Regions from separate parts of the Homo sapiens genome. Here region 1 is linked to region 2. Evidence: promoter capture Hi-C in 16 types of primary human blood cells and fetal thymus (Javierre and others, 2016). All regions are on one chromosome and are shown on one strand. Each heading gives the region's core, a stretch centred on a gene start or on the middle of the fragment in contact. The rest is flanking DNA. Distances are from core to core; before and after follow the strand shown. Region 1 has its middle 16 kb from the start of FMOD. Region 2 holds the start of CYB5R1 (cytochrome b5 reductase 1).

Evidence for each region. Contacts are between HindIII fragments. The CHiCAGO score rates a contact against its expected background, and 5 or more counts as called.
Region 1: a fragment that was not itself captured here is called in contact with the fragment with the promoter of CYB5R1 in region 2 in 1 of 17 cell types (neutrophils); the score reaches 5.9 in neutrophils.

Annotation. Positions count from the first base shown.
Region 1 is chr1:203,332,065-203,338,275 of GRCh38, reverse strand. No RefSeq gene overlaps it. Among named protein-coding and RNA genes, the nearest start is that of FMOD, 16 kb to the left of the region's middle. The HindIII fragment of the contact is 4,053 bases long and covers 1-3,505 here.
Region 2 is chr1:202,965,822-202,972,373 of GRCh38, reverse strand. It overlaps CYB5R1 (cytochrome b5 reductase 1), which reads left to right and starts at 5,117. Exons shown (of 9, transcript NM_016243.3): 1 at 5,117-5,183; 2 at 5,476-5,625; 3 at 5,774-5,846; 4 at 6,381-6,487. The coding sequence starts at 5,169. RefSeq lists silencers at 4,019-4,313, 4,930-5,089, 5,160-5,209. The HindIII fragment of the contact is 3,400 bases long and covers 4,144-6,552 here.

The DNA.
Region 1 (6,211 bases), core at 230-2,729, 370 kb before region 2:
CCACCTCGACCTCCTAAAGTGCTGGAATTACAGGCGTGATCCACCACTCCCGGCCTTTTTTTTTTTTTTTTTTTTGAAACAGGGTCTCACTCTCACCCAGGCTGGAGTGCAGTGGCGCGATCTCAGGTCATTGCAACCTCCACCTCCTGGGTTCAAACAACCCTCCTGCCTGCCTCAGCCTCCCAAGTAGCTGGGACTGCAGGCATGTACCACCATACCTAACTTTTGGCTTTTTTGTAGAGATGGGGTTTCATCATGTCGCCCAAGCTGGTCTCCGACTCCTGGACATAAGCGATCTGCCCGCCTAGGCCACATGCCTAGGCTTACAAAGACTTTGTAAAGGATTACAAAGGAAACTAATTACATTGAAGTACAGTTACCAAAATATAAAACATATACATTTTTGATATAATAATATATATGTTTCTTTATTAAGTCGATGAATAACAAGATTTAGCAACAGGTCTAGTTAATTATAGTCATTTCAAACTATTGATGCATGTAAATGGCATATCAAACTATTTTAACAACTGTAATGTGATATAAAAATATCTTGGCCGGGCGCGGTGGCTGGCCGGGCGCGGTGGCTCATGCCTGTAATCACAGCACTTTGGGAGGCCGAAGCGGGCGGATCACGAGGTCAGGAAATAGAGAACATCCTGGCTAACACGGTGAAACCCCGTCTCTACTAAAAAATACAAAAAAAATAGCTGGGCGTGGTGGTGGGTGCCTGTAGGCCCAGCTACTCGGGAGGCTGAGGCAGGAGAATGGCGTGAACCCGGGAGGCGGAGCTTGCAGTGAGCGGTCTGCACTCCAGCCTGGGCAACACAGCAAGACTCCGTCTCAAAAAAAAAAAAAAAATCTGTGGGCCGGGTGCTCTGGCTCACACCTGTAATTCCAACACTTTGGGAGGCTCAGGCGGATGGATCACTTGAGGTCAAGAGTTCAAGACCAGCCTGGCCAACATGATAAAACCCTGTCTCCACTAAAAATACAAAGATTAGCTGGACATGGTGGCGCATGCCTGTAGTCCCAGCTACTCAGGAGGCTGAGGCAGGAGAATTGCTTGAACCTGGGAGGCGGAGGCTGCAGTGAGCCAAGATAGAGCCACTGTACTCCAGCCTGGGCAACAGCGAGACTTCATCTCAAAAAATAAAAAATAAATAAAAATATATGTGATTTCAGCTGGTGACAAAGCCTCAGGTACTGCTAATAAGGCTGTGGTTTGTTACCTTCATAATTGAAAGGAATGCTACATTTCTGTTAGATGTATGAAAAACAAAGATAGGATTTCCCATTTCTCTCTAAGTCAAGCCAAGGAAAGACAAGCAGAAACATGGATCATAGAGGGAAGGCAAGAAAAATAGGCAAATCATCGTCTTTTCTCTCTATGAACATAGCTTAATCACTCAACAAATTTTTACTGAATGCAAACCTTGAGCTAGATAATGTGTCAGTAGTTGCTGCATTTAGTATGTGAAAGTTGAATGTAAAGTTCTCAAGGTTCTTGCCATGGCATGTGATAGAAATAATAATAACTAACATTTGTTTTACCTTAACAACTTAAAAGACACCTAGTTCATTCAAGAACCCATGAGGTAGTTTGCTATAAGTGCCAATTAAGGCATAGGGACAAAATGTTCATTTTTTTTTTCCAAGGGTGGGGAATGATGAGGGGCAGGGTAGCCAGGAATGCTGCAGAACAGCCCCAAGCTCCCTCTCACTGGGGGCTTGCAATGCACTTCTTTGTTAGCTTTGTTTGCTAGCTCAGCCATTTATTCTACTAAGCACTCAGATGCAGGGTCCACAGTTGATGTATATCATCAGGAGACTCAGTATCCTGTGTAGACCTCAAACTCTCCCAGAAATTCTTCTGCCTCAGACAGATGGGAGCTAGTAGACATGACTCCTGTTGCCAGCTGAGCCTCTGGGTACCTAGGCTAGAAAGTTGTGCCCAGATGGAGCAAACACATTGCTCAATCTTGTAGCAGCCCAGGTTTCCAGAGTAGGAAACTTTTCTGGAAACTAGGCCATGCTCATATGTGCTGCATGAAATGGCACAATAAACTGGACCTAATCCTTTCCTGGACCGTGTGGTCCAGGGAGCAGAAGAAGGGGGAAATGAGTCCAGAAAGACTGGAATGGACAAAAGGACCAAGCAGACCATGCCCAGCCATGCTGGGCTCCAAAAGAAACTGCAAACACTAAAGATAAATGAGCTGTTTCCATCTATGTGTCCAGATTGTGAGCTACACGTAGGGGAGAAAGAACAGAAGTACATTTGACCCAGTTTAAGAAATAAAAACAGGAAATGGGTCAGAGTTCCAAGAGGCAATAAGAAGACCTACCTACATAAGCAAGAGTATTGGAAATCAGAGGGGTCAGTCTTGAACTTTCTTACAACCCACCAGAAATAGAGAATCGGCAGCTTTGTCCTTGTATTCTACCCCAATAATCCCCACATTTTCTCCACAAGTGTTCATCAGAGCCATGAGTTTTGGCAAAATAGGACTCTGGAGGCAGGCAGGGACAATAACAGAAGCATGCTATCAGTGCCAGGCTTAGCTGGCAGTCCCAGAGGTAGATCTGAGTCAGATAACAAGACCAACAATGGCAGTTTGCACAAGAAGGTGTGCGGAAAGCTATTCCAAGGAAGGAGCCAGAAAACTCAAGTCCCAAAGTAGAAACAGATATATACAATCAAGGTATACACACGGTCAAGGCGTCAGGGGCATAAGCAGTTCCAAGCCCTGTAGCAAGGGTAAGCCAGGAGCAGAGGGGATGTCCTTATGGCAGCAGGGGAGTGGACCCAGAACAGCCCTGAGGGCTTTGGCCCAGAGCAAGTGTCAGGTGGTGTTTCCTGGCCCGTCCTCCCCTAAGGGGACTCTCAGCCCATAGGCACCTTAAAATTATGAAAAGCATCTCTCATTGGCCTCACTTATTATGTTTTCTGAGCCAAAAATTATGACACATTTTAATAAATACCTATGTTTTCATAGGACAATAAAACAGACTTTTTTTTTTTTTTTGAGACAGAGTCTCGCTCTGCAACCTCCGCCTCCTGGGGTCACACCATTCTCTTTCCTCAGCCTCCTGAGTAGCTGGGGCTAGAGGCGCCCGCCACTGCACCCAGCTAATTTTTCGTTTTCGTATTTTTAGTAGGGATGGGGTTTCACCGTGTTAGCCAGGATGGTCTCGATCTCCTAACCTCGTGATCCTCCTGCCTCAGCCTCCCAAAGTGCTGGGATTACAGGCGTGAGCCACTGGGCCCGGCCAAAACAGAATATTTTTAAACATTCATGTCCTAGAAGTCCAAGAAATAATCATCAAGGACCATTTGGGGCCAGACCACCAGCTAGAGGCTGGGTTGTGTCAGTCCCAGTTCTTAGTTTGCAAACAACAGAAACTGAAGTTAGCTGATTTAAACCGAACGAGAATTCATTCGTTTGTTCGTTTAAAGGGGGATGGCATATCAGGTAGTTCTGGGAGGGCTCCAGACCAAGCTTGAGGGCATGCAATCAGAAACAACACCCAAGGACCCAAGTTCATGTCCATAAAGACCCCCCACCCCGCCCTGGCACAGACTCGGGAGCTCCATTTATGAGAACTGCTGCTGTTCCTGCCTATGGAATCTGGAGGCCACTGCCATCACTGCCCTACCGTCATCAGGGTGGGTTCCACAGGGCCTTTGCTTTATCATGTCATTAACTTTCAATTCCAAGTCAAACTGGCAGAACCAAGTCAGGTGCTAGTGCCCTACCAGCAAGTGAGACTGGGAGGTGAGTATCTGGCAATCTCATATTTAATAATAGGAGTCAGGCTCTGTCTCACATAGTGGGGAATTTCCCAAAATAAATAAAGGGCTCAGATGCCGAACAGCCAAAAAATAGAAGATTTTCCTTTCAAGAAATCTGTGGAAGGGGTTTGTGAGGTGTATTCATCTTTTTTTTCCCCCTTGATACAGGGTCTTGTTCTGTTACCCAGTCCGGAGTGCAGTGGTTCAATCGTGGTTCACTGCAGCTTTGACTTCCAGACTCAAGCAATCCTTCCACCTCAGCCTCCCAAGTAGCTAGGACCACGAGTGCCCGCCACCATGCCCAGCTAATTTGGTTTTCAATTTTTGTAGAGACAGGGTCTTGCTATGTTGCCCAGGCTGGTCTTAAGCTCTTGAGCTCAAGCCATCTTCCTGCCTCAGCCCTTCAAAGTGCTGGGATTACAGACGTGAACCACCATGCCTGGCCTTGCATTCATCCATATACCAGCCGCCAAGACAGCTCTGTGGAACTGGGTAAGAGAGACACCAACAGGGGTATAGAATGACCTTATATAAATTAGGACTGCCACATACAAACACCTCCTTCTTAATCCAGAAACATTACATCCTGGTGAAAGCTAACACTGCTTTGAATCTGGTTTCAGATCCACAGAACCCATTTCCATTTGTTCCCTAGGGCTGCCGTAACTAAGTACCCACAAACTGAGTAGCTTAAAACAATTTTTAAGATGTATTTATTTTCTCATAGTTCCAGAGGCCAGAAGTCCCAAGTCAAGGGTTGGAAGAGTCATGCTTCTTCCAAAGGCTCTAGGAATCCTTCCTTGCCTCATTCAGCTTCCGGTGGCTCCTGGTGTGCCTTGGCTTGTGCTAGTATAACTCCAGTCTTCACCTGCCTGTGTCTTCACATGGCCATCTTCTCCCTGTCTCTGTGTCTTCTGCTTCTTATAAAGACACCAGTCATAGCCGGAAGCGGTGGCTCACACCTGTAATCCCAGCACTTTGGGAGACCCAGCTGGGTGGATCACCTGAGGTCAGGAGTTCGAGACCAGCCTGGCCAACATAGTGAAACCCCATCTCTACTAAAAATACAAAATTAGCCAGCTGTCATGGCAGGTGCTTGTAATCCCAGCTACTCGGGAGGCTGAGGCAGGAGAATTGCTTGAACCCAGGAGGTGGAGGTTGCAGTGAGCTGAGATTGCGCCATTGTACTCCAGCCTGGGCAATAAGAGTGAAACTCTGTCTCAAAAACAAAAAAAAAAGACACCAGTCATCAGATTTCAGGCCCGCCCTAATTCATTAGGATCTCATCTTTTAAATTATTTTTATTTTTATTTATTACGGACACGTAATATTTGTACATATTTATCTTACGATCTCATCTTGACCCCTAATTAATTATAACTGCAAAGACCTTGTTTCCAAATAAGTCATATTGTAAGGTTCCGGGTGGACATGGATCCTGGGGGGACACTATTCAATGCACTGTGCCATCTAACAGGGACTTCCATAAGGCAGACAAAAGAGCTTCATCTAGGATGTCAGACAGATGTTTCCAGGGCCTTGGGAATGGAATACCAGCCAAGCACTAAGTCCCAGGCACCTGAAACCCAGGCCTTGGTGTATGATACCCTGACAACAGCAAAAACAGCCCAAGGAAGGCATCGTCTATTCACCAAACTAAACAGCAGAGAAAAAGAAAAGGGGACATCCTGGGTTGGTGTATACAGATGACAACTCACATTTATCCTTTTCTTTTCTTTTCTTTTCTTTTCCTTTTCTTTCTTTTCTTTTCTAATAGAGATGGGGTCTTGCCATGCTGACCAGGCTGGTCTCGAACTCCTGGCCTCAAGCCTTCCTCCCATCTTGACCTCCCAAGGTGCTGGGATTACAGGTGTGAGCCACCACGCCCAGCTCACTTTTATTCTTGAGTCTGTATCTTTCCTTACTTTGTTAATTATGAAACTTTTAAAAACCTACAATGGGCCGGGTGCAGTGGCTCATGCTATAATCCCAGCACTGTGGGAGGCCGAGGCAGGCGGACCATGAGGTCAGGAGTTCCAGACCAGCCTGTCCAGTATGACGAAACCCTGTCTCTGCTAAAAAATACATAAATTAGCCAGGTGTGGTGGAGCCTGCCTGTAGTCCCAGCTACTCAGGAGGCTAAGGCAGGAGAACCGCTTGAACCCCGGAGGCAGAGGTTGCAGTGAGCCAAGAACTCACCACTGCACTCCAGCCTGGGTGACAGAGTGAGACTGTCTCAAAAAAAAAAAAAAATTAATTAATTAAAAACCTACAGTGAAGCACAGAAAGCAATATAACAAAGACCAATGTATTTACCATCTAGTTGTTTACCAGAGTTAACAAATGTTAACATTCTGTCATATTTGCTTTAGGTAAATTTTTAAGAAAAAAAAAGAACATTGGAACTATATTTTA
Region 2 (6,552 bases), core at 3,868-6,367:
GTGATCATACCACTGCACTCCAGCTTGGTGACAGAGGAGACTCTATCTCAAAAAAACAAAAAAAAAAAAGTAAAATCACAATGAGATACCTCTTCATGCCTATTAGAATGGCCAAAATCAAAAGTGCTGACAATACCAATTGCTAATGAAAATGCCGCAGCAATTGGAATTCTCATCCATTGCTAGTGGGAAGGCAAAATGGTATAATCACCTTGAAAAACAGTTTGGCAGCTTTTTATATAAAGTTAAATATACACCTTCCATGTGATCCGGAAATCACACTTGTGGATATTTCAGAGAAATAAAAACTAGGTTCACATGGAAATCTGCACATGAATGTTTAAAGCAATTTCAATCATCACCAAAAATTGGAAATAACTCAAATGTCCTTCAGCTGATGAATGGATAAACAAATTATGATACAGCCATACAACAGAATACTACTAGCAATGAAAAGAATGGACTGTAAATACACATGATAACTTGGATGAATCTCAAACTATGCTGAGTGAAAGAAATCCACTCAAAAGCTTACATATTGTATAGACTTTATTTATGTGACATTCATAAAGAGGCAAAAGTGTATTGACAGGGAACACATCAGTGATAACCAGGAGTTAAAGGTAAGGGGAGGATGTGGCCATAAAGGGATAGCATATGGGAGATTTGCAGGGTGATCAAACTGGTCTATTTCCTGATTATAGTGGTGCCACAAATCTATACATATTCTAGAATTCACAGAACTGTATGCCCAAGAGTCTATTTTAATGTATGACAATTACAAATTTAAAATGAGACAGCTGGGGCCAGGCGCAGTGGCTCATGCCTGTAATTCCAGCACTTTGGGAGGCCGAGCCGGGTGGATCACAATGTCAGGAGTTCAAGAACAGTCTGGCCAAGATGGTGAAACCCCTTCTCTACTAAAAATACAAAAATTAGCCAGGCGCCATGGCGGGCGCTGTGGAAGTCGCCTATAATCCCAGCTACTCAGGAGGCTGAGGCAGGAGAATCTCTTGAACCCGGGAGGCAGAGGTTGCAGTGAGCCGAGATCGTGCCACTGCACTCCAGCCTGGGTGACAGAGTGAGACTCCATCTCAAAAAAAAAAAAAAAAAAAAAAGGCCGGGCACGGCGGCTCATCCCTGTAATCCCAGCACTTTGGGAGGCCGAGGAGGATGGATCACAAGGTCAGGAGATTGAGACTATCCTGGCTAACACAGTGAAACCCCGTCTCTACTAAAAATACAAAAAATTAGCCAGGCGTGGTGGCGGGCGCCTGTAGTCCCAGCTACTCGGGAGGCTGAGGCAGGAGAATGGCGTGAACCTGGGAGGTGGAGCTGGTAGTGAGCCAAGATCATGCCACTGCACTCCAGCCTAGGCGACAGAGTGAGACTCCATCTCAAAAAAAAAAAAAAAAAAAAGAGACAGGTGGAACTTTGAACACTGACTAGCTATCTGATGAAACTAAGTAATTGTTGTTAATTATTTTTACATGTGATAATGGTATTATGGTTATTTTTAAGTCCTTAGCTTTTAAAGATACACACTAAAATATTTAAGGACAAAGTTATAAAAAATATGGGATTTGCTTAAAAATAATACTGGAGGAAGGAACGGACTGGGGAAGAAATGAAAGAAAGGTGACCATGATTTAATAATTGTTGAAGAGGGTGATGGGTACGTCGGGCTTTATTATACTGTTCTGTCTACTTTTGTATATGTTTGATAGTTTCCATACTAAAAAGTTCAGCCAGGCACGGTGGCTTACGCCTGTAATCCCAGCACTTTGGGAGGCTGAGGCAGGCGGATCACGAAGTTAGGAGTTTGAGACCAGCCTGGCCAACATGGTGAAACCTCGTCTCTACTAAAAGTACAAAAATTAGCCGGGGATGGTGGCGCATGCCTGTAATCCCAGCTACTCAGGAGGCTGAGGCAGAAGAATCACTTGAACCTGGGAGGCAGAGGTTGCAGTGAGTCGAGATTGCGCCACTGCACTCCAGCCTGGGTGACAGAGCAAGACTCCGTCTCAAAAAAAAAAGAAAAGTTCAAAAAGGGTGTGAGGTTGTTAGTTTTCAACATCAAGCTGCCTGGTATGCAGTCTGAGTTTGCCATTTAGTAGGTGATCTTGGGCAAGTGACTTACTTGTCCTAAACTTCAGTTTCCCCCCACTCCATAAAATGAGACTACTAATGATAATATCTATCTCACAGTTGTTGTCAGGATTAAATGGATGTTGTCAGAATACGTGAAAAGCAATTTACCTAGTTCTTGCTATATTGCACATGCTCAATAAATGTTAATTTTTTTGTCATTATTACATCTCCTGGTCTGATTCCTCCATGCCATCTCCTCAGTATGAGCAAGTCTTCCTCCAAGCTTCTTTCTGGATATCTTATCTAAAAAGGGCCACTGAGTTTTACATCCTAATTCAGAATTATAAAACACAGGTTTGAAATTCTACTTCCCCCTCACACTACATTATATATATATATTTTTTTAAACAGGGTCTTGCTCTATTGCCCAGGCTGGAGTGCAGTGGCGCAATCATGGCTCACTGCAGCGTTGATCTCCCAGGCTCAAGCAATACCCCCACCTCAGCCTCCTTAGTATCTAGGACTACAGGCCAGCGCCATCGCACTTGGCTAATTTTTGTATTTTTGTAAAGACAGGATTTTGCCATGTTGCCCAGGCTGGTCTCAAACTCCTGGGCTCAAGTGATCCATCCAGCCTCCCAAAGTGATGGGATTACAGGCGTGAACCCAGCCTGTTCTATTCTTTATTGTATACCCAGGAGGAAATCCTAAACTTAAAAGATTGGGTTAAATAAAAATTCAGAAATGCCTATCTTTTCCTCCAAACTAGGAGTAATGTAAGATTACCATGAGTCGTGGTGGAGTGGAGTTCAATTCACCACAGAATCTGAGACAGGAAGACCTGCCAGGCCATCAGCCCCTTCCCACCACTCCTGCAGCATTCATTTTCAGGAGCAAAAGAGCCTTCCCACAATTACTGAGTCCAACACTTAGTTTCCAGGATAAGCCCACACCCAACCATTCTGTCCTGTGGTTCCCAGTGATACACTCACACTTGTTAGAATGTGCCACTTTGGGGTTCAGAAAATGCAATCACTGAGAGAAGCCCGAGTTGTAGTTATGCTCTCCTTTCGTTCCATACTTCCCCCTCTCTTGCCACATCTATCCACTAGAGGGAGGAAGGCCTAGAACCTCTTTAGCCAGAGTGGAGCAGTGGCAAGGATCAGTAGTGTGGCTTCTTAACCAAGCCAGCAGTGGGGATGTCAGAAGCACCGGAACATAATCGCCTCATTCTCTCGGAACAGAAAAGAGGAAGGGTCCCTTCCTTCCCCTTTTCAACCCTCTCTGCATGGATTGGCATGTCACCATGATCTGGTGCACTCACTTCCCTCAAGTCAGTGTGCAGGCTGCTTAAAAAATTCAGAGGAACATGTACTGGGGTCTTAGGAACATTTTCAGCCAGTGGAGAGGAAAAGGAAAACTAAGTATCTCTTGGATCATTCACAGAGTTCACCAAATACAACTGAAAACTGGGGGCTCTAATGTCCCTGCTGCCCTGATGGTATTAGTTTAAGATGTTGACACTGACATCTGCAGAGATCTCATCCATCACGGTATATCAAAGAGCAAATGTCATTCTAGTTGAGAAACTCATGTATGAGAAAGAATGGTCATCTTGGGAAATCTGTAGCTCCAGCGGCTCCTGATGTTTTTTCCTGCCTCCTCCTGTCCCATGCTTGTGCCCCAGGCAGAGCTCATTCCTAAAACCATAGCTGACCCTCTGTGCTGTCTTTTAAGTTATAATAGTAGCTGCCAACTGTTGAATATTTTGCTTTATGACAGGCACTACACTAAGCACGTTAACATATCTCACTGAAGCCTCACACCAAAGCTATGAACTAGATACAATCTATCTGTAGATAATAATATATATCCATCTGTAGATATCCATCTTATATCCATCTGTAGATGAAGAAACTCAGGTTGAGTAAGCTATCTAAGGTCACAGAGCCAATAAGTGCTAGAGGCAAGATTCTTATTCTGTACACTCTGCCTCCAAAGCCCACTTCTTTGACCCTAAGGGCACAAGAACCCAAATCAGGATGTGAAGCTTGGTCTTTGAAACCAAAGGAAGCTCCTGAATCATCCTGATAGGCTGACGGCTTGGCGCTGTAAACAAAATCAGTCTTTTGTCAAAAGGAAATGAAGTTGCCATGCCACTGTTCACTCCTGTAAGAGACTCCTCTGGGCTGTTCCATTCTCTTGCTGCAATTCAGCCGGTTGAAAAACTAAGGTGACTGCACAATGATTAACTTCAGGCCCTTCTGCTCTACTTTGAGCCTGTCTCTGGTTCATCGTTACACTCTCCGCTCAGCACCCGCAGACTCAAGAGATTTCCAATCCCCCAATTTAGCGTGGTTCTACCTTAGGCAGAACTCCCATCCAGTTCGGATATAAGCGGGTCGAAGTGGCAGGGACCACCTCGCTGGGAGGAGAGGCTGGAGCTGCGGTCTTAAAAGATCTTGGGGCCGGGCGCGATGGCTCACGCCTGTAATCCCAACACGTTGGGAGGCCGAAGCGGGTAGATTATTTGAGCCCTGGAGCTCGAGACCACCCTGACCAACACGGTGAAACCCAGTCTGTACTAAAAATACAAAAAAAAAATTAGCCGGGCGTGGTGGCGCACGCCAGTAGTCCCAGATACTCGGGAGGCGGAGCCAGGAGAACCACTTGAAACTGGGAGGCGGAGGTTGCAGTAACCGAGATCGCGCCACTGCACTCCAGCCTGGGCGACAGAGCGAGGCTCCGACTCAAAAAAAAAAAAAAAAGTATTGAATAAGCACCGGAGACCCTGAGCCACCGAGTAGCGGAGGGAAAGGGTGGCGCGCAGAGGGGCCCAGCCCCGCCTCTGCCGGACCCCGCCCCCAAAAGGCCCCGCCGCCGCCACCTCCTGCTAGGCCCCGCCCCCGACAGACACCCCCCCCCCCCCCCGCCAGGCCCCGCCTCCTGCCCCCCCAGCCGCGAGGTCCTGCCTCCTGCCCGGCCCCGCCCCCGGCCTGCCCCGCCCTCCGACCCGCCCCGCGGCGCATTGTGGGATCTGTCGGCTTGTCAGGTGGTGGAGGAAAAGGCGCTCCGTCATGGGGATCCAGACGGTAAGACCCTCATTCAGTATCCTCCACTGGGGGACCCCTCCCCATCTGGTTCTGGCCACTCAGCTCCGGACCAGGGGCTGTCGCTGCCGACCCCGCCCCGCAGGGCTCTGGGCCCACCGTGGATGCTGGGGTCCCGATCCCGCACATCCGGGCTCGGGACTCCGCCAGGTTACCCCTCTGCCCTTGGCATGCCTCCGCGCTGGAGCTCGGGATCGCCACCCCTGGGACGGTCACCACCCAAGCCCCGGGCTCTTACCCAGCCTGGCGGTCACGCTGCCTCCTCTACCCACAGAGCCCCGTCCTGCTGGCCTCCCTGGGGGTGGGGCTGGTCACTCTGCTCGGCCTGGCTGTGGGCTCCTACTTGGTTCGGAGGTCCCGCCGGCCTCAGGTCACTCTCCTGGACCCCAATGAAAAGTACCTGCTACGACTGCTAGACAAGACGGTAAGTTGGGGAAGAAAGGGCCAGGGTGAAGGAGGGGACCAGAGTGCTCCTGGCATGGAGGGTACAGCACCCACGGTGGTTGGGATGTCCAAGGGACGTGGCAGCGCCAGGCGCGCTTGGTGAAACACTTGTGTCCTCCACCCTCCAGACTGTGAGCCACAACACCAAGAGGTTCCGCTTTGCCCTGCCCACCGCCCACCACACTCTGGGGCTGCCTGTGGGTAAGGAAAGTGTGGAATGGGCTCCTTTCCCTGGTATCCTCAGAAGGTGACTCCCCTCCTGGGATCTCATGAAACACGCTGCTTCAACCGGTTTGCTCCACACACCATTCCCCTTCCCCCACTTGGCTCTGCATCCTCCAAGCTGTGAGGTGCCACTGGGCCCCTCTAGAGTGTGGCTTCCATGACCCCCATCCAGCTTTAACACTCAACAGTCTTGCCTCTTCCCTGCAGGATTTGCTAATTACTCCCTCTGAGCAAGCACTACTAACTTTTTCCCATTGCCCAGACCCTTTTGGCTCATCTGTCAAGGTCCTGGCAGTAACTGGCAGGAAACGCTGGAAATAAGTGTTTCCTCAACTGGGCGCTTATAAGAGATCCAACTGAGGGCTCAATGGGGCAAATCTTCCCTGCCTTGTAGCTCCTTGGGACCACAGCAGGAAGCAAGACATCTTGTTCTCTCAAATCTCTTTGAGTATTTTGAGGGATGCAGCACATCACAGACAACCCTTATGTAGCTCTCTGCACGGTCCCCAGGCAAACATATCTACCTCTCCACCCGAATTGATGGCAGCCTGGTCATCAGGCCATACACTCCTGTCACCAGTGATGAGGATCAAGGCTATGTGGATCTTGTCATCAAGGTAAGGGGCTAGGAAGGGACCCAGGGGCTGCTTACCCATTCTTTCTGGGATTTGTAGAAATTTCT